Regions from separate parts of the Homo sapiens genome. Here all the other regions are linked to region 2. The links are contacts of gene promoters, found by promoter capture Hi-C in blood cells and fetal thymus (Javierre and others, 2016). All regions are on one chromosome and are shown on one strand. Each heading gives the region's core, a stretch centred on a gene start or on the middle of the fragment in contact. The rest is flanking DNA. Distances are from core to core; before and after follow the strand shown. Region 1 overlaps BTLA (B and T lymphocyte associated). Region 2 holds the start of CD47 (CD47 molecule). Region 3 overlaps CD96 (CD96 molecule). Region 4 overlaps GTPBP8 (GTP binding protein 8).

The links. Contacts are between HindIII fragments. The CHiCAGO score rates a contact against its expected background, and 5 or more counts as called.
Region 1: a fragment that was not itself captured here is called in contact with the fragment with the promoter of CD47 in region 2 in 2 of 17 cell types (total B cells and activated CD4 T cells); the score reaches 7.9 in total B cells.
Region 3: a fragment that was not itself captured here is called in contact with the fragment with the promoter of CD47 in region 2 in 4 of 17 cell types (fetal thymus, naive CD4 T cells, non-activated CD4 T cells and 1 more); the score reaches 9.8 in fetal thymus.
Region 4: a contact is called between a fragment that was not itself captured here and the fragment with the promoter of CD47 in region 2, in 1 of 17 cell types (activated CD4 T cells). The highest score is 8.3, in activated CD4 T cells.

Annotation. Positions count from the first base shown.
Region 1 is chr3:112,475,009-112,478,200 of GRCh38, reverse strand. The region is part of intron 2 of BTLA (B and T lymphocyte associated); the gene reads left to right. Among named protein-coding and RNA genes, the nearest start is that of BTLA, 23 kb to the left of the region's middle. The HindIII fragment of the contact is 4,154 bases long and covers 1-3,192 here.
Region 2 is chr3:108,088,778-108,092,514 of GRCh38, reverse strand. It overlaps CD47 (CD47 molecule), which reads left to right and starts at 1,484. Exons shown (of 11, transcript NM_001777.4): 1 at 1,484-1,652. The coding sequence starts at 1,607. RefSeq lists silencers at 871-930, 941-990, 1,011-1,760. The HindIII fragment of the contact is 8,318 bases long and covers 1-2,289 here.
Region 3 is chr3:111,546,737-111,549,989 of GRCh38, reverse strand. All of the region lies in intron 2 of CD96 (CD96 molecule), which reads right to left. Among named protein-coding and RNA genes, the nearest start is that of CD96, 6.2 kb to the right of the region's middle. The HindIII fragment of the contact is 1,137 bases long and covers 1,202-2,338 here.
Region 4 is chr3:112,999,788-113,002,959 of GRCh38, reverse strand. GTPBP8 (GTP binding protein 8) reads right to left here. Exons shown (of 6, transcript NM_014170.4): 6 at 991-2,110. The coding sequence ends at 2,041. RMP64 (ribonuclease MRP subunit p64) reads left to right here. Exons shown (of 9, transcript NM_015412.4): 9 at 1-516. Among named protein-coding and RNA genes, the nearest start is that of GTPBP8, 10 kb to the right of the region's middle. The HindIII fragment of the contact is 950 bases long and covers 1,051-2,000 here.

The DNA of each region.
Region 1 (3,192 bases), core at 188-2,687, 4.4 Mb before region 2:
GATTCAATGCAGTTCCACTAAAATCCTAACAGCTTTTTGTTGCTATTGCAGAAATAAAAAAGCTGATCCTAAAATTCACATTGAGTTGCAACAGACCCAGAATTGCCAAAACAATCTTGAAAAAGAACAAAACTGAAGCTAAGACTTCCCTATTTCAAAACTTACTACAAAATGACAGTTAAAAAAAAAAAAAAAGAATAGTATTGTCATGGATAGACAAAGAGATCAATGTAAATAGAATTGAGAGTCCAGAATAAACTCCATACATCCGTAGTCAATTGATTTTTGATAAGGGTACCAAGATTATTCAGTGGGGAAAGAATAGTCTCAATAAATGGTGCCAGGATAATTGGATATTCATATGTAAAAGAATTAATTTGAACCCTCATCTCACTCCATATTTTAAGCAATCAAAATAAGTCAGACATTTAAGTAGAAGAGCTAAAACTATAAAAACTGCATTATATAAAACAATAAAACTCTGATTTCTTAGGAGAAAACATAGGGATAAATGTTTCTGATCTTGGATTTAGCAGTGTTTTCTTAGCTATGATTACAAAAGCATAATCAACAATAACACCAAAAATAGATAAATTGGACTTCATAAAAATTAAACACTTCTGTGCATCAAAAGATACTAAAATTCAACAACAAATAGACTGGCAACCTAATTTTAAAATGAGCAAAGGACTTGAATAGACATTTCATCAAAGAAAATATACAAATGGCCAATAAACATATGAAAAAAATGCTCAATGTCATTAGTTACTGGAGAAATGCAAATCAAAGTCACAGTGAAAACCCACTTCACACCCATCGAATGACTAGAATAAAAAAAAAAAACACAGAAAATAATAAGTGTTAGCAAGGATGTGAAGAAATAGAAACCCTATCCATTGCTGAGGAGAATGTAAAATGGTGCAGTCACTTTAGAAAGTGGTCTAACAGTTCCTCAAAATCAAAAGATAAAACCTACTTGTCACAGTACCCAGTAATTCTATTCCTAGGTAAATACTCAAATGAAATTAAAATATATGTTCACACAAAACCTTGTTCCTGAATGTTTATCACAGCACTATTCACAATAGCCAAAAGGTAGAAACAACCTAAATGTTCAGCTGATGAATGGATAAAGGAAATGTAGTTTATCCACACACGGAATATTATTCAGTCATGAAAAGGAATGAAGTACTAATGTATGCTACAACATTGATGAACCTCAGAAGCATTACGCTAAGTAAAAGAAGAAAAAGGTTACATACAATGTGATTCTGATTATATGAAATATCCAAAATAGGCAAATCCATAGAGACAGAAAGTAGCTTGGTGGTTGCCAGGGGCTGAGGAAATAAAGAATGTGACATGACTACTAAATAGGTAGAGGGCTTCCTTTTGGGGTGATAAATATGTTCTGAATCTAGATCGTAGTCACGTTTGCAAAACATTGTGAGTATCTTACATGCCATTTAATTGTACATTTTAAATGATTAAATTGGTAACTTTTATGTTATATGTATTTTACCACAATAAAAATATATTTGGATCAAAGAAGAGTGCCCTTTAATTATAAGAAATAATGTGGAGTTTCTTTTGTTGCTCATAAATTGACCCTTAAAGTTACTGGGAAGGAGAAATTTCAAAAGAGGGTTATTGCAATAGCAGCATGGCTGAACTCTGGATGCAACCTCGTACAGTTTAGTTCCTTTATGGACATCATTCACTTGAATGCATACATTTTACAACTGATCTTTTTAAAATTAATTTGTTACTTTATATGCTTACTTTTGAGTGTCTTTCAACTCCCTTAAAGTAGCCCAGTGAAGGAATCCATTGAAATTCTTTTAAAATGCTTTAGGTTAGTTTAAAATTTCTTACAGCAGCACCATGAAAAAATGCATAGCAGTTTAGCAGTAGCTACAACCCTCAATTATGAAATATAGAAGAAATCGATGGCAGAGTTAGGGACTCTGCTTTTGCAAATATAGCGTGAAGCTCGGTGCTAGTTACTTGTGACCATCCATGCACTGGCTTATAAACCTCTTCAGGATGGAAGCTGTGTCTTAAACATCTTTGCTCTGTATGATGGATGGCAGGGTACCTGGCACATGGTAGGGGCTCACTAAATATTTCTTTGTAAATGAATTAAAGAACATAGTATATGCAAAGCACAAAAATTGTCTTCATCAACCTGGAGAAGGCTATATTAAGGATGTATGGAATGAACACTTTCTGGAAAGAATTGCATTATTAATTCACATTAATGAGACAAAATATTGAATTTTTAACAAATACTATTTTTTAAACAGGTAAAATAAATTACAAAAATAAGGAAAATCTGCAAAATATTAATTCTAGAATGATATATACTATTGAATAAATAAGTGCTATTAACTAATTTATATAATATATTAACATAATGTATAATAAAATTAAATTTTGAGGCATTGAGTCCACCTTCCTTGGAAGAGAAGCCTTGTGTAATTCAGTCTTTCTTTATGGGAACTAATCTACTTCTATACGAGACATGAATTTAGCCAAGGTCAGATGAAAGGTCAGAAGTTAATAATTAATTGTGATACAAAAGTCTGTTACACAAAAGTAGCATTGCAATTTCTGCTCTATCCCATATTTGGGTCATTCATGATGACTAAAGATAATCTGTAGTTTGTAAAGTGCATAAAGGTGCCTGTTCTAGGGATCAAGTTGGGGCTGAGATTAGGATCAACAATCTATCTATTTTGTGGAGGAAAGAACCCAACTTTAGGGGAAAGGGAATAACATTCCCTCCTAAATCCTGTGCCTTGGGGGGTTTTATGGAACAAAGTATGTGAAGTATGAAGTGGTGAAAGAGAAAGTCTAAGAGCTAAATAGGAGACATGAAGGGCCTTGTCAGTTTCTTTTTGAACATTTCTACTCTCTTAGTTTCCTACTCACCTATCCTTCCTATCACTCCCTTCCTTATCAGTTTGTTAATTAATGCTCTTGATCCTCATGGAAAATCCCAGAGAATTTTCTTTGGCTTCCTACTCTTGTCTCTCCACAACATTCCACTCTGTGATGTGTTTCCTCCAATTGCTTCTATAAGCATCTCGCACCATCATTATCTTCCTTCTAAATAATTCCAATTAATTCTATGATTGGACTCTTTGTCTTTAGTATTTCCCCATTTTGGTCAATTTCAGCCAAATACAC
Region 2 (3,737 bases), core at 235-2,734:
AATGCCTGCCTCACGCCGCATCAACACATTTATTAAACCCCTTCTGTTTGCCGAGCTCAATGGAAAGTCTTGGAGGAGGGAATACTTAAAATGCTCTCGGATTTAAAAGAATTGATAATGCTGTGGGGAAGAGGTTCACACAAAAAAGCAATTACAGGAAGAAGCTCGATAGTATACAATACACTGGTACAGAGTGTCATAGACAGTGCCACTTTCATACGCTGGATTTTATTTCTGTGGCAATGGGATGCTTGGGAGGAGCCGCACTGTGTAGAGGATTTGGAGAAGTGGGGTATTGTGGTGGGAAATTGCTTTCTTTCCCAGGAGGTAGGAGGAAAACAATCAAGGAGGTGGACAGGATGTGCACTCCATTAGAGCAGCCACCAGAGCCTGACTTTTTGATAAGAGAGTACATCAGTTAGGATAACGGTTAAAAGTATCTTTAAAAGACTTTTGCTTCAGGATGAATGATGTGGCCTGTGTGATTCAGCGATAAATTCAAAAGCCTTGTCCCTATTGTGGCTTGCGGCCACATTTCGAACCCATTTTTCAAGCATGTTAAACCCAAGCGCAGCGCAGAGGGCTGCACATGGGGCAGTCACAAACCAAGCTCAATAACCTTGCTGGTGGGGATGTGTTGGATACGCTGCTAATGCCTGTTTGCGACAATGCTCGCTAGTCCCGGTGGTGGCGGTGTTCACAGGTAACAATGTTTACCACCGTGAATGGAACTTGTTTGATTAACCCTGATCAGAGGATGAAAACACTAAAGAACCAAGTGAGAAAGAGGGAAGAGAACCGCATAGGGAAGAGCAGAGCGAGTAGACGAGCCGAACGCAGAGCCCGCGAGGGGCGAGTGGAAGCTCCCTGCGGGCAGGTACCCGACCACCGCCCTGCCCTGGGCGTGGCGGCCTCGGGCTCAGGGACCGCTTCGGCGCTAGACGGCCGCGTCCGGAGGAAACGGGCGCTGGTGAAAGCCTAGGTGTCCTGGTCCACGCGCGCAGCCGGACGTCGGGTCCAGGGAGAGACGCGGGCTGGGGCGGGACGGGACCCGGCCCCTGAAGCGCGAGGGTGGGAGTGAAAGCAAAGAGGAGAAAAGTAGAGAGAGAGGACAGTGGGGCCCAGCGCCGCGCGAAAGGCAGGAACCGACCCGCGGACAGGAACGGGTGCAATGAGGTCCCCGGCGAGCGTGGGAACACAGGGTTCAGCCTCCTGCGGCGGGCGAGCACGCGGACCCCAGGGGCGGGCGGGTGCGACAGGACGTGACCTGGAAGCGCGGCGCGTGCCACCGCCCTGGAGCAGGCATCCGGCCTCCGTGGAGCGGGCAGGCGGGCCCCGGGTCTGGAGCCTGCGACTGGGGAGGGCGCCGCGTCAACAGCAGCGGTTGCGGGGCGGGGCCGAGTGCGCGTGCGCGGCTCTCGCGGGCGGGGAGCAGGCGGGGGAGCGGGCGGGAAGCAGTGGGAGCGCGCGTGCGCGCGGCCGTGCAGCCTGGGCAGTGGGTCCTGCCTGTGACGCGCGGCGGCGGTCGGTCCTGCCTGTAACGGCGGCGGCGGCTGCTGCTCCGGACACCTGCGGCGGCGGCGGCGACCCCGCGGCGGGCGCGGAGATGTGGCCCCTGGTAGCGGCGCTGTTGCTGGGCTCGGCGTGCTGCGGTGAGTGGCTCCTCGCTCCCAGCCCTGCGGCTGCTGTCGCTTCGCCCCCGCGGGCGTGTGGGCTGCGCCCCAGCCAGCCCGGCGGCGCCCTGAAGAGGGTGGCCGGGGCGCAGAACACTCGGGCCCTGAGCGCCCGAAGTGCAGACGTGGGAGGGCCCCACGGGGAATCGGGCGCCCCCCTTCTTCCTCCCTTCCTTTCCCTGGTCGTCTTCTTCCCCCTGGGTGAGAGCGGGGCTCATCTCCTCCACCCGGTTCTCCATCTCCAAATGCACACACACAGGAAGACTCCAAACCGCGCACCTCGCGCAAAAATTAACTAGCAAGAAAGGGCGCGATCAGAGGCAAGGGGCTGCAGCTGCTAGGGATCCCCTTCTTTCGCACCCCTCTCCCTTCTCAGTGCTTAGACGCATTTGGGGTTGAGGGAGGGAGAGTGGGAGGGCCCGGGCCTCTTGCGATGGAAGTGCGCATTTTGGCGAAGTCGGTGAGAAGGGGTTTCTGCCGTTTGCCTCCCACATGAACATAGGAGCGAAGAGGACGTAAAGGACACAATTAAGTTTCATTTTCAACTCAGCATTCAATCAGAAGAATCTTCCGGCCGTGTAATTTTTGCTGTCGTTTTTAATCCTAAAAATAAGCTTGCTGGAAACTCTTCCTTTCTCGTGACCCTCACGCCCCATCAGCCACTTGCATACATTCTAAATTGTACGTTGAAGTTTTTCCCACTTTATTTGGGGGAACCGTTTTAAAAGTAATCTGGTTTTCGCCTGAAATAGGAAGACAGTAACCTCCAGTCAAAACATGTGCAGCAGAATGGGATTTGGTGTTTTTCGACGCCAAAGAACCTCCACCCCCCCACCCCCACCCCGAGCTTTTGGAATCCATTTCGCTTTTGTAAAACGTGTGCTTCGTCTGTAAAAACTGAGCAAGGAATAGAAACATTCGTAGCTCTACAGTGAGTGCCTGTCACACTTCACATCCATAGAGCCTTTTGTGAACTTTTATAAGATTCAGAATTCAGCTTGAGCACCAGTGACAGCAATTGTTACATTTATTCTAGAATGCTAAATTAATTCGATTTTAAACTGATTATTAGCCTCGGTGTGCCGTTCCTAAAGGCTTGTGACTTTAGGTATTTCCAAGATGCCCTTAAGTCTCTGCTTACCACTTTCCTCCCTCCCCGAGCATCCTGGATGTTGGGACTGTGAATCCAGGTCTCCGTTATCTAAATGGTTGATGTTAGTGTTTCCTGTCATCACGTTTAGTATGCTTGTTGCCTTTACTATCATTATAGCTAAAATAATACTGCTTTCAGAGATGTGTTGTATAATCGCATAATAATTTCAGAACGCCTTCATATTGAACCAGATATGAAGTGATACAGTATCATTTATTCAAACTGCCTAAAAAGTAAAAAGTATAAACCATATACTATTTTTAAAACAGGTAGGTTAGATTTAAATCACGTAGTTTAGAACTGTTGGAATGGTACTTTGAGTGATAGGATTTATGTTAGGCCTTCTTTAGTAATAGTTAATATCATGTAATTAGCACTCGTTTACACACAATTTTAATGTGTTCGAATCCCTAGAGTCATCGAATTCAGAATTTATAGTATTTTATTTTACTTAGTTAATATTAACCTAAAAAAAAAGCAAAATACAGGCATTATGCAGTTGAGTTGTGTTAAGTGTGGACTGTAAAACAGGATAGTATTTGTTATAAAATATGTTTTTGTATGTGTTTAATATATAGCTTCAAAAGGACATGTATGAAGAAAGATGTCTCAGCACATAGGTAGTTATAAACCAAGGGTTTGAGAGACTGACTTTAGAATCTAGAATGAGTAAGAAAGTGATGGATCTGTACATTCATTTGTATTGAAGTTTGATTTTGCTTTCAGTTTCGTTAATTAAGCCCCGGGAATCAGGGACCTTTCCTGGCACCCTCTACAGTGTTAGTGGCCTTTGTGGTAAAAGAAGTTATCTCAGATACTCATTTCATGCAATTACAGGCAAACTGGAAGGCACCTTAATGGTATGCAAGATGTGAAATGAATTACTATGTTGCATTCCACTCTGCCCCCAC
Region 3 (3,253 bases), core at 521-3,020, 3.5 Mb before region 2:
CTCTTCCTAGAGGATTTCTTTCACTCCCAGAATTTTAGTTAACACTCACACTCAGATGACTCTGTATCTTCAGCTTAAACCTCTCTCCTAGATCTGAAATTGTATATCCAGTTTACCTAACGTCTTCTGTATGTCACAACTTCATGCCTAACTCAACATCTATAAGATTAAATGCAAAATAATTTCTGTATGATCTGATCATCTTCCAGTGTTCCCTAATACAATGTTCCCCTATTTTTTCTGTGTCACATATTAGAAATTAAAGCATCATCCTTGACGCTGCTTTTTATTCCTTCCTTCACGTAGGCAATCCACCACTGATCCTGTGGGGAGAATCTCCTACACAAGTTTCTAATCTAAACATTCTTCTATTTCTAGTTCATTGCCACTGTACTTAATGGTACCAGCATCTCTCATGTAGCTTTCTGCTGTTGTCTTCTAACTGATCCACACTATCGTCTCTGCCTTCTCCAATTCATTCTCTACACTTGAACCACAAAGATGCATTTTTGAAATGCAAAACAAAAAAAATCAAACAAAACAACCACCTTTTAATTAGTTCCCACAGCTCTTAGGATAAAGACAAAACTCCTTAAATGGACTAATCAATCTTTCTAACCTTATCGTCAACTGCCTCACCTGTAATCCCTCTGCTCCAGCCATAATACCTTTTAAAATCTCCCCTGCCTACCCAGTTGTTATAACTTCCTTCCCCCATAGAACCTTTGCATGTCCTGTTCTTTGTAAAGCTCTGTGTTCACTTGGTTAACTCCAGTTGAAGCAGCGCTTCCAAAGGAAAGGAAAGGAGAGGGGAGGGGAGGGGAAGAGAGGGGAGGGGAGAAGAGAGGGAAATGAAAATAAGGGGGAAGGGAAAGGAAAGGACAAAGTAAAGAAAGTCTTTTCTGATTTTCCTATTATACCCTCTCATACACTACTTCCTCACTTCTGAAGCACTTCTCACTGTTGCAATTTGATATTTGTTTGCTTATTTGATGAATGTCAACTTCTTCCTATTGAACTTTGTGATTCATGAAGACACAGTCATGCATATATGCCTACTCTGTGCCTAGTGCCCAGTGTCTAGCACTGTAAGCACTCAAAAACACTTGTTGGATAAAGACTAAATACAGGAATTTAAGAAGAGCCAGCATTCAGGCTCAATACAAACTAGACAGGATAACAACATGTTTTAGACCAAGCTTATCAACATTGTAGTATCAAAATTTTATTGCTACTATTACTACTACTTCCAGGACCATGACTTCTCCAACCGCATTCACTGCTACTACTGCTTCCAATAACATTAACAGCCCACCAAGGCATTTACTGTGAACTAGTAAATTAAAGCCATGTTATACTCTTATAACTGATCTTAATAACTACAAATTTTAAAATGCACCAAAATCTTACAATCTGAAGCATTATGGGATCCAGTAGCATTCAAATGAATGAAATCTAGATTATGACAATCCAAGGCTTAACTCAGAGAACTGCATTTCTTGGAGTGACTGAAAATCTCCTAACCTAGGAGGAAACTCTGTCAAGTGAAAGCGAAAAAGAGGCAAACCTCACACTGTTTATTATATTTCCACTCTTGTCCACAATCTCAGAGCACTAAGACACACACAGAGACAAAATATTGTGAAAAGAGAACAGAATCCTTTCACAGCTAGGCCCTTGGGGAACATGGGAACAGGATTTAGACACACACTGTGTTGTGAGCAGACAAGAGAGAATGACTCAAACAGCAACAGAAAAGAAACAGGAAGAGATGATCAACTCAAACACTTCAAGTCCCTCAGCATTTTCAAATTAGGTTCTTATGCACCACTTCAATTTGCATTTGTTTATGTACTATATAAGTGTTTGCACTTCAGGTGTGTTTTGCTTACCCAACTAGCTTGTAAACTTAAAGATTGCACAGGGGCATAAGAAGAAAACTGTACAAGTGAGAGGAGAAGAAGCAAGAGAAGATCAAAACAGTAAAGGGTAGAAAGAAAATATGCTATTGGTTGTGAACTTGACAGAGCTCTCAGATGGCAACTGCCTCCCTTTAGTCAGCTGCCTACTCTGTAGCTCCGTACCAGGCTTACATTTGTGGTCACTCTGTGGTGAAGGATGTTTCCCCCTTCTGTTTTGCTCTTTTCTATTTTACTCCCTTTGTACCCAAAATCACAATACCAGAACCATTTCTCTAACACTGAGGCCATTGCTTTTCATCTGATCCAGATGACAGCAGCAAAGTTACATTCAGAAGACCGGAAATTTTCCAACCGCAAAAAGTATAGATACGGTTTCTGCCTCTCCAGTGACCTGCAGTTTTTAGTAGCTACAAGCTTAACTCCCTTGGTTCTCTTTATTTTAAGAAATACATTTCTTTAAAGGCAACATCATCCTCCTTTCTGGATAATATACTATCTGTTCTCCATTGCTGTCTTCATTTTGTGGCATCACTTATTCTATTTCCTATAAGGTACATCAGTCCATGTTGCCAAGTCTCAATGAAGGAAACACTGAGTCCTCCGTGAGGCAATAGTATTGTTTACTGGTTCAGGCAGAATGTACAAAAAAAACTATGTATGAAACCAAGGTCAATGTGTACTTGTACTAACATTACATGGCAAATGTCTTACTGGGTTCCAAATGAGGTCAATATATAAAAAGAAGGAGCAGGGCTCATATTTAATTGGAACTGAGAAATAGAATTTGCTCAATATAATTATTACTATTCTTAATTGAAAACTACCATTTACCAAACTCTTATCCTTTAGCAGGAACTATATGTTTAAGTGCATTACACAGATTATCTCATTTAATCACCAAGCTAGTGATACCTGTAAAGAAAGCACTATAATTATCCATATTTGTTATGTAAGAAACTTGAAACAACTTGGGAATGATGAAACGTATGGTAAATGATAGAGCCAATATCCAAATACAGGCTACCTGAATCAAACTATGTATAGCTAAACAGTTTTCTATATAGGTCTTCCATTTCTCTTTACTTCAATCCCACTCCACTCCATCCTTAATTGAACTGAAGTGTGTGTGTGTGTGTGTGTGTGTGTGTATGTGTCTGTGTGTGTGTGTGTGTGGTGTGTTTTCCTCCTGGAAAACAGCAAGGGAATTGGGCATTATAAGATAGTAGTTGATGGGACCTTGGCCTATAGGTGGACTGTTCCAACAGCATATTTTTAAAGCAAGTAAGTTATAAGACATGGAGAGGAGGCTATAAATCCATACCTGTTGCTTG
Region 4 (3,172 bases), core at 276-2,775, 4.9 Mb before region 2:
TGCTGTGGCAACCAGTTTCAAGCAGGGCTGAACCTTGCCTCTTGCTCTGGGGATGTCTCACTTCCTGCCCCTGGGCTTCTCACCAGCTACAGGAACTGCCTAGCACTTGGGTATGTACAACCTGGAAGAGGTGTGGGGCCACCCCATCCCCTCCTCAAAGAAATTCACAGGCACAGTATGAGGCTAAAGTAACTTCCATCTTGGATGCTAATCTACCATGTTGACTTCTGATAACCAGTTCCTGGAATGCCCTCTAAGATTTCTACTTTTATCTATTAAAAGAACACACACACACACACACACTGTAAATCCTGGCCTTAAGCAAGTTATAGGCTAAGTTGTAAACAGCATTCTTGCCTTTCCCTGAGGAGGTGACTTCAGTGTCTCACATGTTCCTTCATGTACCCCCTTTTCTCTATGGCATATAAGCCCTGGGTCGGGGGGTAACTGTGGGGATCACTGCCTGAGACATGGCTTCTGTGCATAAGTCCCTATTAAATGTTTCTTTCTGACAAACTGGATTTGTTGGCCTCTTTCTTTGGCATCTCAGCACTCTCAGCCTTTGGGGGTAGGTTGCATAGACCTGGTCACTATACAACACATATTTCCTAGGACTTGTCACAAGTTCCCTCAAGATCTAGCACTAGTGCCTATGTTTTGGCTAACTCAATGAATATGTTGTTAATAGGCTTGTCTGTCTTGTTTCATTTTGCCACTGTTCCCTGGGATCACTTCCCAAATTTACATATGTAAGCTTTTGGCTCAGGCTCTGCTTATAGGAGAACCAAGGATAAATCAAAGCAGTGAAGTAACACTGGCAGACAAAAAGATGACTTCTAAGATAATTCTTTTGTTACTATATATTTTATGAATGTCTATATTAAAAAATCTTTTTTTTGGCTGAAAACATTCCTGCTTAGATTAGACCAATTCTGTCAACTATAAAACTGACAATATATTCAGATTGTTTTCTAAAGAAAAGCCACGAAGTTGGTTTATAGCTTTAATTTGTTATCCAGCAATACAGCTATAACCTTTTAATATTAAGCTTCACTTTGAAAACCTAAGCCACTTACATGAATAGGTTAGTGGCACCTTCACAAAAATCTTCTCTATTAACTTTAGTTCAAAGGCTTTATTTTTCCATTCTGAATCTTAAATGTAGCAGTCTAAACTGTCCCATCAGCTTTTTTCTCTTGCCCTTTACAAATTAGTTTTCTCACTTAAAGCTATTTTTGTTTTTTGCTTTTTCACTAGTGAAAATGTTACTTCCCCCATGAAAGGACATTTCTTGTAATAAATCTACCTGTGAATTTTGCTATATTTCTTTGTTGGTTTGGCTTTACAAATATGTAGCTGTCTTCTCACATGTTACCTGCTGTAAAACCATTCATTTGAATCTTAATAGCTTTCACGTTTACAGTAACAAATGAATTTCCGAGAAATCAAGTAAGTTGCCCAAGATCCAACATATATAATAAACATCAGAACTAGAACTTGAATTCTGTTCTTTCGGTTGTTTCCAACATGGACTAACACATTTTATCAAGAATGTTTTCAATATTCAAATAAGGACTCAAAAAAATAGGCTTACATAGTAACTTTTATCCATCAACTTACCTATCGATGCTTAACAGAAAAGCAGCCCCCTTTTACCTAGCCCATTTTAACATTTAAAAAAAAAATACCCATAGTAGACATATTCTTTAAAAGACAAAAGCCCAATAAAACGTCAAACCCTTCTGTACATAGTTGTAACAGGTTTTCATTTTATGGATGTGCTCTTGTCAGTTTGTTAAAATAGGGGAATCAGCTAGTAGCTGTTCTAATGAACACCATAATTCAATAACTTACAAACTTTTTTCACCTCAGGCACAAATTCTTGTTTCGAGAAGGCACAGGTTTTAAAGCTCAAGTGATCCTCCTGAAGTTACAGATGCACAACATTTAAAACAATGTTGAAATTCTTCTAGGTATTTAACTCCAGTTAGCATAAAGCTTTTTTTTTTTTTTTTGAATCTTCAGCTAAACCGGGAACCATTAGTCAAGACTTCCTGTTACACTGGCTATAAAGCATCTCAACAGGTGGATTCCAGAAAAGGTCACAGCACTGTGAAAAGAAAAGAGAAATAATTTTCTTCCTTTCCTCAGATATAACATCTGAATTCATCAACTTAAAAAAATTTACAAATTCTTATGATTTCATATATGAAAGCAGAACATCTTTTAATGTGTTCTAGCTTTCTTCTCTTCCCCCAGCCGCGTCTTGTAGTATTCTAAAATCTGATGATCAATATTATCTGATCCATTTCCTTCATGATTCCAAAAATTTCACTATATCTTCTATTTTGCTTTGTTTTCCAGAATAAGTCTTGATCTCTTTAGTTTGTTCTTTTTGTAATAAATATTCAATTACCTTGTTAGACTTTTTAGGTTTTAAAAAAATTACCATCACCATTATTGTACATATTATTTATCTATCTGTCTTCCTATATCCATCTGTGCGTCCGTCTGTCCGTCCGTATGGAGATCAGCCAAAATGTTTCTCAGGTATGGATATACTACAGTTTTTTTTGGTGGTGGTGGTGGTTTTTGAGACAGAGTCTCACTCTGTCGCCCAGGCTGGAGTGCAATGGCGTGATCTTGGCTCACTGCAACCTCTGCCTCCCGAGCAGCTGGGATTACAGGCATGTGCCACCACATCTGGCTAATTTTTTTTTTTATTTTAATTTTTCTAGAGATGGGGTTTCACCATGTTGACCAGGCTGGTTTTGGACTCCCGACCTCAGGTGATCTGCCCACCTCGGCCTCCCAAAAATGCTAGGATCACAGGCATGAGCCATGGCACCTGGCCTTCAAATGTCTCTAGTTTTAAGTGACACTTTAAGAAACACTGATAATATTACAGGTTTTCAGTACATAACGTTATAAAAACAATTCAACTAACAAGTGGATAAAGAAAATGTGGTATTTATGTACCATGTAATACTACTCAGCCATAAAATGGAACAAAATAATGGCATGTGAAGCAACCTGGATGGAGGTGGAGACCATTATTCTAAGTGAAGTAACTCAGGAATAAAAAGCCAAATACTGTATGTTCTCACTTAGAAGTGGGAGCTAAGCTATGAGGACACAAATGCATAAGAATGATATAATGGACTTTGGGGAT